Regions from separate parts of the Homo sapiens genome. Here regions 1 and 2 are each linked to region 3. The links are contacts of gene promoters, found by promoter capture Hi-C in blood cells and fetal thymus (Javierre and others, 2016). All regions are on one chromosome and are shown on one strand. Each heading gives the region's core, a stretch centred on a gene start or on the middle of the fragment in contact. The rest is flanking DNA. Distances are from core to core; before and after follow the strand shown.

What was found. The method cuts DNA at HindIII sites, captures the fragments that hold promoters and counts their contacts. A CHiCAGO score of 5 or more calls a contact.
Region 1: a fragment that was not itself captured here is called in contact with the fragment with the promoter of FAM131B in region 3 in 1 of 17 cell types (M0 macrophages); the score reaches 7.2 in M0 macrophages.
Region 2: a contact is called between a fragment that was not itself captured here and the fragment with the promoter of FAM131B in region 3, in 1 of 17 cell types (neutrophils). The highest score is 5.8, in neutrophils.

Annotation. Positions count from the first base shown.
Region 1 is chr7:143,501,331-143,504,297 of GRCh38, forward strand. All of the region lies in intron 2 of EPHA1-AS1 (EPHA1 antisense RNA 1), which reads left to right. Among named protein-coding and RNA genes, the nearest start is that of TAS2R41, 25 kb to the left of the region's middle. The HindIII fragment of the contact is 983 bases long and covers 922-1,904 here.
Region 2 is chr7:143,202,648-143,205,593 of GRCh38, forward strand. It overlaps LOC124901764 (a long non-coding RNA gene), which reads right to left. Exons shown (of 2, transcript XR_007060567.1): 1 at 529-2,946. Among named protein-coding and RNA genes, the nearest start is that of TAS2R40, 18 kb to the right of the region's middle. The HindIII fragment of the contact is 1,499 bases long and covers 664-2,162 here.
Region 3 is chr7:143,360,912-143,364,035 of GRCh38, forward strand. It overlaps FAM131B (family with sequence similarity 131 member B), which reads right to left and starts at 1,802. Exons shown (of 7, transcript NM_001031690.3): 1 at 1,665-1,802. The coding sequence starts at 1,692. FAM131B-AS1 (FAM131B antisense RNA 1) reads left to right here and starts at 795. Exons shown (of 3, transcript NR_183342.1): 1 at 795-1,146; 2 at 2,279-2,346; 3 at 2,990-3,124. The HindIII fragment of the contact is 5,612 bases long and covers 1-3,124 here.

The sequences.
Region 1 (2,967 bases), core at 163-2,662, 140 kb after region 3:
TTTATGTTGAAATGCTTTGAAGAGTTTAGAAGAAAGGTGCCAGTCAAGCCAATGCTAGAAACAGAGATTAATTTTTATTTCCTCACACATTTACTTCTATCCTGCTGTGCCTTGTAAACTGAACATTTTCATATTTTTCTCCTTCGCAAAATACAAACTGTTCCAACAGTTCTCTGCCTCAAACCTGAAGTGTTTTATGCCATCCTTGGTAGGTTGTGAGAGATATTTTGGAAGCACCTTTTTAGAAGCTCTGTTAATTGAAACTATTCCTCAAGCTTTGCAATAAATGCAGAAAGTTTCAGTGCTCCCTCACATCCTGGAAGCTGACTGTAGCCTGTAGAGGGCTACTGGGTTAAGCCCTCTACAAAGGTGACGATAGAGTCCAGTTCAGGAAGCCATCTTCTGGCCAGGTAGGGTGGACATGGGCACACTGGAGCCAGAGGGAGGTCAAAAGAGGGTAGTGAGTGTAGGGGCCAGAAATGATTATCCAAGAGTAAATTGAGGTCCAGAAGCTGTTCAGAGGCACAGGAGCCCTTTTTCATCTTGTCTTTGTTCCTGTTGATAGTGAATATACAGCAGCTGTCTTGAAGATGGAGAAGGAAAGTGAGGGGTGCTGACTGAGAAACTGCCTTACAGACCTCCTTCCTCTCTCCATCTACCTCTAAGTCAAATGAAAAGGAATCCAGTGAAATTCTCCCAGCTCCCTTAATAAAGATGACTCTCCAGCTCTCATCTTGCTAGGAGAATGTTCCACTTCTTTTTCCACAAATAAAAATAATTTATGTTTGTACAGTGCTTAATTTCAAGAAATTTCATAGATATTATTTCATTTGAGGAAGGAGAGAATTGGGGCTGGGTTAGGCCACACAAGCCTGGCTCAATGTCAAGTATTTCCTAAATGGAGACAGAGGTCTGACTCTAAGCTTTATATATGACACTGGTTAGATTTTAGAGTTTTTTAGTTTTTTGAGTTGTGGTGGGAGAAGCACTATAATCATTATTAATATAGCCACCATGAAACATAGATTTAAAATTCTGCTCTGCTAGTTTGAGGTAGCATTAAGATCAGTAGAATGATTTTGAAGGTTTCTGCTTATCAAAGAAATGTTTAAAGAAGAAGAAGTGTGGGTGTGGTGGCTCACACCTGTAATCCCAGCACTTTGGGAGGCTGAGGCGGGTGTATCACCTGAGGTCAGGAGTTTGAGACCAGCCTGGCCAACGTGGTGAAATCCCCTCTCTACTAAAAGTACAAACATTAGCCAGGTGTGGTGGCACACACCTGTAGTCCTAGCTGATTGGGAGCCTGAGGCAGGAGGATCACTTGAACCCAAGAGGCAGAGTTTGCAGTGAGCTGAGATCACACCACTGTACCCGAGCCTGGTTGACAGAGTGAGACTCCATCTAAAAAAAAAAAGAAAAGAAAATATCTATTTCAAACATCTTTAACAAACAATTTTAAGGTATCTAGGCTGTCTAAACATTTATTCTAAAGTTCTCTCTACGAAAAACAATCTAGACTTTATAAAAGATTAGTAAATCTAACCTATTATAAAAATAGTTAAGTTTATAATACCAAGTTAAATTTTTTAGGATCTATATGTGCTTTTTATGATTGGGACACTTGCATTAAGAATAGTACTGCTTATACAGATTTTATTAAAGAATTAGACTTATTTCACTACTTTATTTCAAAGATTGATAATACTTTTATTTTGGTGTATTTTTGGCCATATAGAGGATTAATTTAATGGTAAGTTTTAGTCAGAAAACCAACCTTCTATCATATTGTCCTTATAGGAAAATACAATGAACGATATCATGTTGTACTCTTTGATAACATAGTTTTCTAGGAATATTCTGGGTAAAATGGTTTAAATAATTTGGGAGTAAATTTCTTTTGCTGAAGCTTTTAATTTCAACTACTCATGCAGCAAAATATTTTGCCAAAGTCCAATGACTTTCAAGTTTAATAGTGGCATTAGGTAAAGCTGAAAATAGGCCTATATTTTGTGAACATAATCACATTATGACTGAACCTCCTTAGACTTCCTTCCCTAGCCTTGTGGCCAGGATATAATTGCATCCGTCATGGGCCATAAGTCCCAGTGCAATGACGGGTAATTGATTTTGATGTGGAGGTTGAGGGGTGAGAGAGGGAGGGCTCCTCCCACACCACATTGCAAGCCTTCCTAAAAATCACCCAGACATCTTTGATGTCCTGAAATCCCTTTCCCCATTACAGCTGACTCCTTCCCAGTAACTCAGGCTTCCTCACTTAGATGCCTATGCATGATTCTGCTCCTGGACAGGGTCATGTGTTGAGGCAGGCATCTTATGGAGAGAAGGATGTGATGGAGCACTGAGCTTCTCAGGGCTGAGGGTCTGGTATCTGACTCCCCAACATCATATATTGTTGGTCACTAGCAGCGGAACTGTGGCGTCTTCACTAGAGCAGTCCCTCTATATGCTGTGCCTTGGTTCCTGGCTTCATCTTTGCCCAACTCTATTGTCCTCCTACAGATTCTGTGGGTCTTTCCCTAATAAATGATTTTTTCTGTTTAAATAACTCTGAAGGGATGTAAGTTTTAAAAAAGCCACCAAAATTCTCATTGACCCTGTTAACTTCAACTTTACTTCTAAGCCAGTTCTTAGCCTTTCCAAGTACTTTACTAGTCTTCCCATCTCAGAATTTCCCAATGTACAGGAAAGAGAGCCAGAGGGCAGTTCAGCAAAACAAAATCACAGCCACCTCGGGATCCCCAATTTGTCCAGGGACAACAACAGTAGCAAAGATACGAGGTCTTGGAGAGAAACCCTCCCAGAACCCACACAAGCAGAGGTGGAAAAGGTAGACTGGAAACCTGGTTTCTTCTTTTCCTGCTGTTCCAACCAGCAAGCCCCTTGCCCAGGCCCTACCAAATATATACCCATTTTTCTTCCAAGGTGTGTCCTTTCAAGGTATGGGGC
Region 2 (2,946 bases), core at 163-2,662, 160 kb before region 3:
TTTGCACAATGTCTCGCTCCTGCTATCCAAAGCTAGGAATCCGATAGCCAAGGCCCTCCAGGCTTCTAGCAGCCTGATCAGCCACCACATTCCCAGAGGCCCATGACATGCATATTCTGAGCATCCTTTACTCCACTTCATCTACAATATGCTTTTTCTGATTGTCCACAACCAAGAAATAGGATGAAATCTCCAGTCTGCTCTTGGCCATCCTCATTCCCTTCTCTTTAGTGTTATGATATTTTTTTCTCTATGGAGTCTCAGAAGAAAGGGAAGTAGTGAACACATTATTTAAAAAATCAAATCAAAACCTTATACATACTTTTTTTTTATCATACAAGAACCTCTGGGTCTATTTCAGAAGCTTAATATTTGGTGCCCAAAATATTTTATCCTGGACAATCTTATATTGCACAAATCTTAATTCAGAGTCATAAAAGTCCCCCAAACTGGCTTTTTAAGCTGGTGCATAAACCCCATTGATGATAGTCTTATCCTATTTTTGTTTATGCTCATGTGCTTTCTCACCTGTTAAGAAACTTGCTAATTCTATTATGCGACTCTCTGGCAAAGCTTATCAAAGCTTCAAATTAATTAAGCAGTGGCAGCTCCCAATTTCCTTTTCTTACTGGCAAAAATTTGTTTCACAGAAAATGTTTAGAAAGCTTAAGTTGGTAACAGCTGATTGTTGACCTGGAAATAAGAGGTCTTCATCAATATGTTAAGCGGTCAGGATACTTAAAGAAAAACATCTATGGAGACTTCTTAGCATGCACTCTAGGCAAATACTTGCTGTCCTTCACCATTATTTCAGGATTTTTTTTTCCTAAAAGCATAAGAACAAACACATAAATGATAAAAGCAGAATTTAGGCCAACTCTAGCTTGCCTGCCAAGTAGGTAAGATGCGGTGGCAGAATACTGGCTACACTTGTGCCTGTATCACCATGGAGACCCTACTCTGACCATCAAATAATGGGATTCTAATGAGGAATGCTGCTGAACAACAAGCATGGCTGAGCACAAAGACAGAGCTGCTGGCATTGGAACATGGGAGTGAGCAAGAAAGGGGCAGCCCAAGGGAGAAGAAAAGGTGACACTGAACGTAGGTGTCGTGATGAGAAGAAAATAGGTTGCAGGTGGTGACTGCCTGGAGACCAGCCCAAATCACCTTCCACCTTTACGTGGAATCCAGGCTCAAAGCAGGAGGGACAAACTTGAGTGGGATAAATGTGACATGAAATGAGTCAGTTTGCCCAGAATATGTTTTTACCTATGAGGTGGATTGCATGGGATGGGGGAGGGGGGCTTGTAGGCAGGAGGGGCTGGGTCATGGAAATTAAATGAATTACTTTCCTAATGTGCATTGTTGTTTTTTTTTTTTTTTACACAATTGGTTCACAAAATAAAAAATTAATCCTTACTTTATGTATGAGCTCATCTGGGATTTTGAAATAGCCTCCTGATGCACATCTGTACTTAGACCAATTCTAAATCCTGGACTAGAATTTTGAGTAAAATCATCTCCAGGCAAGAGCCAGGACCAGTGAGAGCTGAGAGGCTCAAGAAGTGATGAGAATAGATTAGATGAACCCTCACTGCTGATATCAGAATTAGAAATGAATTATAACAAGGCTGAGTTTCAAAGAGAAATGCCCAGGATGGGGTCAGGATGCACCTTTCTCTCTCTCCATACAAGCTCTCCCTGAGGGGTCTCCTCTATTCTAAGTGCTCAGGTCCCCTCACAAGCCAATGGCTTCCAAACTTGTGTTTATCTCATCTCTTGCTCTTGATCTCCAGGCCTCTCTACCCACCAACAATCCCTTCTCCTATATATATATTTTTGGGCCCAAATTTTTGCTAAGTGAATTGTTCTGGCTCTAACTATCCTCTCCTTTGCAAATGAGAGGTCTTTCATTCTAAGAATTATCATGGGCCGGCATTTGTAGCTGACATTGAAAATAAACCTCCCCCCTCCCCAGAACTGCCTATAAGATGTGATTTTCTGAAAACCTGCAGGCCTTGGGAATGCAAATCAGAGAAAGATCCAATTGTCACCAACACTTACCAGGGAACACTGCCATTTGCATCTGCACTCCAGATCCCCGGTGGCTGCAAATATATCAGTGGCTCATTCAAACCAGAGCCCAGGCACAGATTGAAAGCTTGAGTGGAGGTGGATTTGGAAAGAGGAATGAAAAGGACACAGCTCTGGAAACTGGGGGGAATGAGCCCGTGTCACTGCCAAGATGGAAGGGTAGGCAGTGCATTCCCACATGTCTGACCCTAAGATTTCAAATTTCATTAGTAGCATCTCCTTTAGCTCAACCTAACTACAAGGAGAACGAGAAATACAAGGAAGTCCCTGCCATGTTTGGGGAGCATTTTTATCTCTGCCCCAGCATCTCCCATTTTCTGCTGAACTAAAAACCTTTCTCTTTCTCAAGATATGTGGAAAAGGAAAAGGAGAAATAAGGAATATCTCTTACTTTAGTCCTTCATTTTTCTAGCTTCCCAACTCTCCAACTCAGACTCTCGCTCTGACCCCCAAGTCAAATATGGCAGGTAGCACTGCCTTCTTTAGGGGTCTTCCAGATTATGCTACCACCACCACCACCACCACCACTCCACTTTTCAGAAACATGTGGGTTTCCACTTGTCAAAAATAAAACAACCCTCTTGATCATTATAGACTTGGGGTCTTGGCTAGAGAACAAATGAAAACAGAATTAAGAACAAAGAGGCGGGGCATGGTGGCTCAAGCCTGTAATCCCAGCACTTTTGGAGGCTGAAGCAGGTGGATCACGAGGTCAGGAGTTCGAGACCAGCCTGGCCAACATGGTGAAACCCCATCTCTACTGAAAATACAAAAATTAGCCAGGCGTGGTAATACTACTACTAATAATAATACTAATAATAACAAAGAAAAGCAAATAGTTAAGTATTT
Region 3 (3,124 bases), core at 552-3,051:
CAGCCGGGCCAGAGCTCCTGGTGGAGGGAGACTCCTGGACTGAGGGCAGGATGGTGCCGCGGAGAGTCTTGCGGAAGAACTGCTTGGGTCTTCATAAAGGGACTATTCAAGCAGCAGATGGCTGCCTGAACCATCTGACCGTACAGGCCCTTTATACTCATGAGGTTTTACAATTGTGAGTTTAGGGGTCGGCTCCATTTTTGGGAAGGGGAGCATTGAATGGGGCTGGGCACGAGGAGGCATTCAGCACATCAGCAGGGCTGGGGGAAAGGAAGGGGCTTGTGGTGAACCGGACTGAGGAGGGAGGACCCTCCAAAGTTGGCCTGCTGTCCCCTGGGGCTCCGCGGGGTGGTGACTGGGGGAAAAGAGGAAAGATGGCCCTCCGGACACAGCAGGAATGGGGCAGGTGGAGAAGAGCCTGAGGAGAAGGGAGACAGGGGAGGGCGGGGTGCGGGGGGAGAGGGGAGCGGGAGGTGGCCTTTGTGAGAGACGGAGAGCTGAGTCAGAGCTGTGGGGGGCAGCGGGGAGGGAGAGAGCCGCGGAGAAGGGGTGAAAGCAGAGGAGGAGGGGGTATCCATGGAAATAAACCGGGTCTCAGGGAAATCAGGCTTCTGGAGAGTGAGTTTGTTTGTAATAATAATACGAATTATTCTCTCAGCCTGAGGTCACCGGGAGGTGTAGGCGGGAGAAATTGGGAGTTGGAAAGGGGAAGAATGGGGGAGGGGGTGGGAGAGGGCCGGATGAATTCGCTGAGCGGCGAGAGTGGAGTGGGTGCCTGGGTGGGGGTCAGGGGCGGTAGCCAGGCAGAAGCTGGAGGGAGAAGATGGATTAGGAGGCGCCTCTCTTCCCTCCCCGCGTCAAAGGTAAATAAAGAGCCGGCCCCGCCCCGCCGGCCCCCGCTGACAGGTGCAGGCGGGTCCCCGGCCGCCGAGGCAGGGCCGGCCCCACCCTCCCGGGCCGCGGGCTCCCGACCCCTCCCAGCGCCTCGAAGCCCCCATCTCCTCCCCGCGTCCCCCAGCCCCTTCCCTCCACCCGGCCCTGGCCCTGTCCCTCCGGGCGTGGAACCCGGGCTCATCCCGCCCCCGCCCCAGAGGGAAAACGCACGTGAACAAAGCGAATCGGAGGAGGCAGGAACGACAGTAAAAGGCAACGGAGAGGGAGAGAGAGATGGGGCAAAGCACCCGAGCCAGATGGAGGCGGCGGCGGGGGGTGGCGTGGGGGGCGTGCGAAAGAAACTCGGGGCTGGCGCGGAGGCCGAGGGTCCTTCGCGGGGGGCTGCTCCGGAGTGGGGGATGCGAGGAGGCGCTGGGGACGGCGGAGCAGAGGCGGATGGCCTGGAGGGGCAGGGATGAGGGGACCGAGCGTCGGGCCGAGAGGCAGAGGAGAGGAGGGCGATGGAGAGGATGGAGAGGACCGCGCCTGCGGGAGGGCGACGGGGAGAAGGAAGCGAGCCGAGCGGGATGGCAGCCCCGGAGGCGCAAGACGAGAGCGGGCAGGAAGGAGGGACAGAGGGACCGCGGGCGGACGGAAGGAAAGTGAAGGAGCTAGCAGGGCAAGGCGGGTGCGGAGCGGGGCGCCCGGAGGCGCGAGGAGAGGGATGGGGGAGGGGGTCGGAGGGCGGCCCGGGGGGCCCAGCCCTGCCCCCGCCCGGCCGCGGTACCCACCCACAGTCCGGGAGCCGATGCAGCCCATGGCTCCGGGGGCCGCAGAGCCGGGCCCTCACCGACTCGGGGCGCGCGCCGGGGGGAGCACCGGGAGCCGCGCCGCCGCCCCAGCCGCTCTGCAGCGCCGCGGCTGTCTCCGCTCGGCTCCGCTCCCCCCTCCCCTCTCCATCCCTCCCCACGGCAGCTCCGTCGCCGCCGCCGCCGCCGCCGCCGCCGCCGCCTGGCTCCCCCGCCCCGGCTCGGCTCGCCGCGGCCGGGGAGGGGGCGGCCCGGGGATTGGCTGCGCCCCGCGCCTCCCCGCCCCTGCTCCGGCCGTGCCGGGGCGCTCCCTCGGGGATCTGGGGCCGCCGTCGCCGCCCCCCTCCTCCCGCCCGTGCCAAGCCCCGCTCCCGGGGCTCTCTCCTGGAGAACCCCGGCTTGGGTTTCAGGAGCCGAGGCACGAACCCAGGGCCTACCCCGAGGTTCTGGTTGATGGATTTTGCGGGCCGGGGTCAGGGGATGCCCTGAGAGAAAGTGGGGTGGTGGTGAGAATAAAGCCAGGCCCAAGGGCCTTTGGCCACCAAATTCCGCAAACACTTGTTTTCCTCCTGGGGCCGCATCTGGGACACACACAGGAACGTGATTGGACACAGCTTTGGGCTCTGTTGTTTCGAGTGCGCTATTTTGTCCATCCAAACAGAAGGTGAAGTCTTTGCAAGTGAATCGTGTAGTCCACTTCTCTGTGCTCGCTGGACATTCAGGGGTGGGTGTGGGGATGTGCAGATAGTTGACCTCCAGGCCTGGTTGGGGATTGGAGAATATGAGGAGGACAGTTCATTCGCAGTAGACTAACAACAATGTCAGGACCCGAGGCTGGCTAGGAGACATCGTCTTGAATCCAGTTTAACTTTTCTGAGACGTGATCTTCTCGGACAAATGAAAGCAAGGCGGTCCCGAAGCAGCAAAGAGAGAGAAAGATTGGCCTCTGGCTAGTGGGACTGGGCCAGGTAGATACCTCAAGCCCCATGGGGAGGAGATGAAGGTCTAAGTTGCAAGGGTTAAATGAGCACTGTGGTTACAGCAGGTAAGAAGTGGAGTCCAGAAAAGATGCATGAGAAAGGGCAAGGAGACCCTTTTGTCTAAGGTGTACCCAGAAAGCCCAAAGTGTGAGAGAGTGGGCAGGTGGGCATTCACAGAAGCAAGTGCCCATCCAGGCTCTGACTGCACCTCGCCCACTTTTAGGTCTCTCCGAGGTTGCAGAGAGAGAAGGCAATGGGCCAGGGGTCCCTGGTGTGGGCTCCTAACAGGGAGGCTAAGTCTTATGGATGCAACTTTCTAACCTTTAGATTATGAATGGAGAGCTACATCCCATGGGGTGGCAGATGAAGATGTGCAAGAAGAAGACACTAACAACTGAATTGCAGATTGAGGAGATGAGATTATGGTGACAGAATCCATCTTCGGTGTATGTGCATGAAGAA